2 separate regions of the Homo sapiens genome follow, and region 1 is linked to region 2. Evidence: promoter capture Hi-C in 16 types of primary human blood cells and fetal thymus (Javierre and others, 2016). All regions are on one chromosome and are shown on one strand. The core of a region is centred on a gene start or on the middle of the fragment in contact, and the rest is flanking DNA. Distances in the headings are between cores, read along the strand shown.

Region 1 (2,752 bases), core at 141-2,640, 130 kb before region 2:
AAGGGGTGTATCTGCATGGGGTGGGGAGGTAGGAGGGTTCCTGAAGATAGCCAGCAAAATTGAGGCAGGAGAATAGGGTCTGGAGGCAGGGAACCTAGGCCGTTTCACGCTGACTTCCTGGAACTAGACTGAAAGGAAAACCCTCTTTCCATGCCTAAGTAACAAAAGGACCAGAGGCTACTCCCGTTGCAAACCCCCACCTTTTCTGTGCCCCGGAGATGGGAAATTGCAAGTACTTCTGATTGGTTGCTTTCTGCAACCAATCAGATGTTTGAAGAAGAGAGTAACTTTGTAGCTTCATTTCAGCCTCTGATTGGTTGCGGGCCACCTCTTCATTTACATGGGGTGAGCATGAAGTGTGGCCCATGGGAAAGCTCTACGGGGTATTTAGACCTGAGTAGATTCTCTATCCAGGGCCCTTGAACCACTGCTTGGACCCACTCCCACCCTGTGGTGTGTACTTTCCTTTTCAATAAGTCTCTGGTTTTGTTGCTTCATTCTTTCCTTGCTTTGTTTGTATGTTTTGTCCAATTCTTTGTTCAAAATGCCAAGAACCTGGACACCCTCCCCCAGTAACAAAATTATATTAAAAATCCAAGAGCAGAGCTGAGAAACACTGAAGTGGCCCAGGACTGGTGGCCGCTCTCCCAGCATCTCTTGAGTCTCCTCTCTGGGGCCCTGGCTTTCACCTCCCACAGCCCCCACTGGATGCTCCAGCGTGTGCCCACGCCCAGCGCCCCCCACTCCGCCCTGCACCCTCCCGGGCCCTCTTGCTCTGGCTCTCCCTCTTATCTTTCTTCCCTTCTAACTCACTAATCTAATTTTCAATTTGCCAAACAGATTCCCAATAAAAAAATCTTTCTGAGCTAGACAAGACAACTCCTCTGTTGCTGGCAGCCTCATCCATGGGCTGTCCTGAGTCCAGCTCCAGTACTTGGTCCAGGCTGCTCTGGCAGGGACCCAGCCATGAACGGATGCAAAGGAACATGGTTTTCATCTGCGCTTCTCTGATTTCGGATGAAGCTAAGCTTCTCTTCTTGTTTGGTGCTCTTTGGGGTGTCTTCTTCTATGAATTGCCTATCTACATCTTATCCCTTTTTCCACTTTCTGTCTTTTTCCTCTTGATTTGCATGAGTTCCTTGAATTTTCTAGGCACTAGTCCCTTGTCAGCTTTGGATATTGCAAGCGTGTTCTCCCATTCTGTCCTCTGTCTACAGGGATACCTCAGAGATGTTGTGGGTTCAGTCCAGATTACTGCAATAAGGCAAATATTGCAATAAAGTGAGTCACACATTTTTGTGGTTTCCCAGTGCATATAAAAGTTATGTTTCTATACTGTAGTCCATTTAGTGTGCAATAGCATTATGTATAAAATGTACTGTATTAATTAAAAATACTTTATTGCTAAACAATGGTAACAATTATCTGAGCCTTCATGGAGTTGTAATCTTCCTTTGGTGGAGGGTTTTGCCTCGATGTTGGTGGCTGCTGACTGATCAGGGTGGTGGTTCCTGAAGGTTGGGGTGGCTGTGGAATTTCTTAAAATAAGACAGTAATGAAGTTTGCTGTATCCATCGACTCTTCTTTTTTAATTTTTTTCTACCCCTGCCCTTCCCCTGACTCTTCCTTTCACAAAAAGATTTTTCTGTAGCATGTGATGCTGTTTGATAGAATTTTACCCAGAGTAGAACTTCTTTGAAAATTGGAGTCAGTCCTTTCAGACCTTGCCACTGCTTTGTCAGCTAAGCTTATGTAATATTCTAAATGCTTTGTTGTCGTTTTAACAGTGTTCATAGCTTCTTCATCAAGAGTAGTTTCCATGTCAAGAAACCACGTTCTTTGCTCATCCAAAAGAAGCAACTCCTCATCCTTTCAAGTTTGATCATGAAATTGCAGTTCAGTCCCATCTTCTATTTCTCTTGCATTTCCACCACATCTGCAGTGACTTCCTCCACTAAAGTCTTCAACCCCTCAAGGTCATCCATGAAGACTGGAATCAACTTCTTCCAAACTCCTCTTAATGTTATTATTTTGATCTCCTCCCATGAATCACGAATGTTTCTAATGGCATTTAGAATGGTGAATCCTTTCCAGACGTTTTCAATTTTCCTTGCCCAGATCCATCAGAGGAATCACTATCTATGGCAGTTATAGCCTTATTAAATCTATTTCTTAAATAATAAGACTTGAAAGTAGAAATTAGTCCTTGATCCATGGGCAGAGAATGGTGATCGTGTTAGCAGGCAGGGACACGACATTTATCTCCTAGCACATCTCCCTCAGAGCTTATAGGTGACCAAGTGCATTGTCAATGAGCAGTAATATTTTGAAAGGAATCTTTTCTTCTGAGCAGTAGGTCTCAACGGCGGGCTTAAAATATTCAGTAAACCATGCTGTAAGCAGTTGTGTAGTCATTCAGGCTTTGTTGTTCCATTTCTAGAGCACAGGCAGAATAGATTCAGCATAATTCTTAAGGACGCTAAGATTTTCAGAATGGCAAGTGAGCACTGGCTTCAGCTTAAAGACACCAGCTGCATCAGCCCCTAGCAAGAGAGTCAGCCTATCCTTTGAAGCTTTGAAGCCAGACATTGATGTCTTCTCTCTAGCTATGAAAAGTCTTAGATGGCATCTTCTTCCAATAGAAGACTGTTTAGTCTACATTGAAAATTTGTTGTTTAGTGCTCCTGTCTTCATCAATGATCTTAATTAACTAGATCTTCTGGAAAACTTGTTGCAGCTTCTCCATCAACAC
Region 2 (2,846 bases), core at 47-2,546:
GTTGGAGAAACTGGGCTTTTGGTGGCAAACGAATCATTCTTCCTACCTCCGTGGCAGCTGTGCATCTACGCTGGGTTCTGGAAGGCGCAGTGCTGGCCATTTCAGCTCGTAGGTTGGGAAGAAGGGGCAGTGTGCCCGATCTGATAGGTGTAACACGCCATGGTGCTTTGGCACCAAGAGGCCAATTGAAACTGGAGAGTTTTAGAGAATAAAGTATGACCGTCACCCACAGCACAGCTGCTTCCTGAAAATTCCACTCCCGCTGCATGAAAAAGCACATGGAGTATTCCAGGATTCTTAATATAGGCATTTTCCCACGTTCTGTAGATTGCTTGTTTTTCTTCCCCTATCCCATGGGTCTGCTGGTGGCTGACTGGCCACTTTTTGGTCAGCTTTATTGAGGTGTGATTTACATATAATGCCCTTTGACTGACAGTATACAATTAGATGGGTTGTCGTAAGTGTGCACAGTCATGTGACCACCGCCACAGTGTGATCTGGAACATTTCCACCACTCCACAAGGTCCCTCTGACCCTTTACAGCCTCTGCCCTTCCCCACCTCCACCTTCAGACTTGAGGGTGGGTCCATGTCTTACCTTTGTGTATCCCATGTCCAGCGCAATTCTGAACCCAGGTGGACACAAGTGATGTTTAAATGAGTACATTAGGAGGCCTGGCTTTTTTTTTTCCCCAGGCTGGAGTGCAATGGTGCGATCTTGGCTCACTTCAACCTCCATCTCCCAGGTTCAAGCGATTCTCGTGGCTCAGCCTCCTGAGTAGCTGGGACTACAGCATGCACCAACACGCCCAGCTAACTTTTTATAGTGTTAGTAGAGACAGGGTTTTGCCATGTTGCCCAGGCTGGTCTTGAGCTCCTGAGCTCAGGTGGTCTGCCCGTCTCCACCTCAAAGTCCTCAGGTTACAGGTGTGAGCCACTGTACCCAGCCAGCTCTGGCATATTTTAAAAATCCTCCCAAGACTCCTTCTGTCTCCTCCCATTGATCCTAAATTTTGAAGGATTGTCCACCCAAGCATTTGTTAATTAGTAATTTCTTCATTTAGTCACTCACTCCTGGTACCAGCCTTCCTGATCAGCCTGAGATAATCAGCGTGACCGAAGTTGATAACATTCCAGCTGAAAGCAGAGACTTGCTGTTCTCGTTTGCCTATGCAGTCACGGGTGAAATGTGCAATTTCCTTTCCGTTCCTTGAGTGCCTGCGAGCACTGCGAGAGCCTCCATTGTTACTTTCTGTTATCTCTCACCCTAGACCAGAAATCGCCAGCCTTCACCACTGGCCTCTGCCTTTTTCTTTTTTCTTTTAATAATAAATGAGGAAGTTAGCCCTTGAGCAATTTAGGAGTTCACCCAAGAGCACCCCAAAAGGCTTGAAGTTTACAGGGATTTTTCTCTGTCCCAAACTGTTTGTTGTTGTCATAGTTGTTGAGACGGAGTCTCGCTCTGTCGCCCAAGCTGGGGTGCAGTGGTGGGATCCTGGCTCACTGCAACCTCCGCTTCCCGGGTTCAAGCGATTCTCCTGCTTCAGCCTCCTGAGTAGCTGGGACTACAGGCGGCCACCACCACGCCCAGCTAATTTTTGTATTTTTAGTAGAGACAGGTTTGGCCAGGCTGGTCTAGAACTCCTGACCTCAGGTGATCAGCCTGCCTTGGCCTCCCAAAATGCTTGGACTATAGGCGTGAGCCACTGTGCCCAGCCTGTCCTAAACTTTGTCACCAAGGATTTGATGTGTCCCTTCATTCTGCCTTCCTGAGCTCCCTTTCACTTGTACGTTGGGGAAGGATCTTGGCAAACCTGAAGGTAAGGTGGAATCTGCCTCTTTCCTCTCATCAAAGCTCTGAGAAGGAAGAATCTGTAGTGTCCCTGGGTTCAGTAATCATAGTATATTGCCTCTAAACTCAGTGAAGCATTTTAAAGTGATAACTCATGTTTTCCAAATGAGTCCCAGGCATCACAGCCATGTCTTTGTTAACTCATATGTGGTTCTATACTTCTATATGTTAACTCATTTTCCAGTAGGAACTCCCATGATTCCCAGTTTTTAGATTAAAAAACAGAGAAATGAAGTAACTTTCCCAGGGTTACATAGTCACAAGATCACCTATTGCTACATAACAAACCACCCCAAAACTTAAAAATATGATTTGAAATCATCTTTCATGGATTTAGGAGTCATCTGGCTCAGCTGAGTTCTCACTGGGGGTTCCTCCTATTTGAAAAGTCAGGTGGCAGCTGAGCCTGGCACATCCTAGAGGCTCCTTCACTCTCACATCACTCCCTGGGGCTGGCCGTGCAGCTGTTTCTCCATCCGTGCAGCCTCTCCACGTGGCTGGCTTGAGCTTCCTCATAACATGGTGGTCTTGGTGCAGATTCCTAACGTGGCAGCTGGTTTCACCCGCGGCAGACATTACAAGAGATCCAGGAGGAACTGCGAGGTTCCTTCTCACCTAACCCAGAAGTCAGGTGGTGTGGTTTCTGCTGCATTTCTGTTGAGCACAGCTGCCCCAACTCAAGGATGGAGGAACAGATTCGCCCACTCAACAGGAGACAGCACATGTATGCAGGGAGGGACCACATTCCTAGTGGCTGTCCTGTGGGCTACTTACCCCATGGAGCCCCTGTGCCTGCCATGCGTTGAGCCACTTCCGCAGCGGCTTTCAGACTTTGACAGTGAGCCACGGCGAGGAACTTCACATCATGACCTATTGGATATAGACATCCCAGAAAACTCCTGGAGCTCTGGTTTTGTTCTATGAACAGCAGCCGCAACAAAACCTGTGTGTCCTGAGTGGATTTTATGACCTATGTCCTACGTGCAGTTTGAGAA

What was found. The method cuts DNA at HindIII sites, captures the fragments that hold promoters and counts their contacts. A CHiCAGO score of 5 or more calls a contact.
Region 1: a contact is called between a fragment that was not itself captured here and the fragment with the promoter of PRKAG2-AS2 in region 2, in 4 of 17 cell types (monocytes, M1 macrophages, M0 macrophages and 1 more). The highest score is 9.7, in monocytes.

The regions. Positions count from the first base shown.
Region 1 is chr7:151,938,740-151,941,491 of GRCh38, reverse strand. No RefSeq gene overlaps it. Among named protein-coding and RNA genes, the nearest start is that of GALNTL5, 16 kb to the left of the region's middle. The HindIII fragment of the contact is 719 bases long and covers 1,031-1,749 here.
Region 2 is chr7:151,804,788-151,807,633 of GRCh38, reverse strand. It overlaps PRKAG2-AS2 (PRKAG2 antisense RNA 2), which reads right to left and starts at 1,296. Exons shown (of 3, transcript NR_171033.1): 1 at 598-1,296; 2 at 1-262. All of the region lies in intron 1 of PRKAG2 (protein kinase AMP-activated non-catalytic subunit gamma 2), which reads left to right. The HindIII fragment of the contact is 22,647 bases long and covers 1-2,846 here.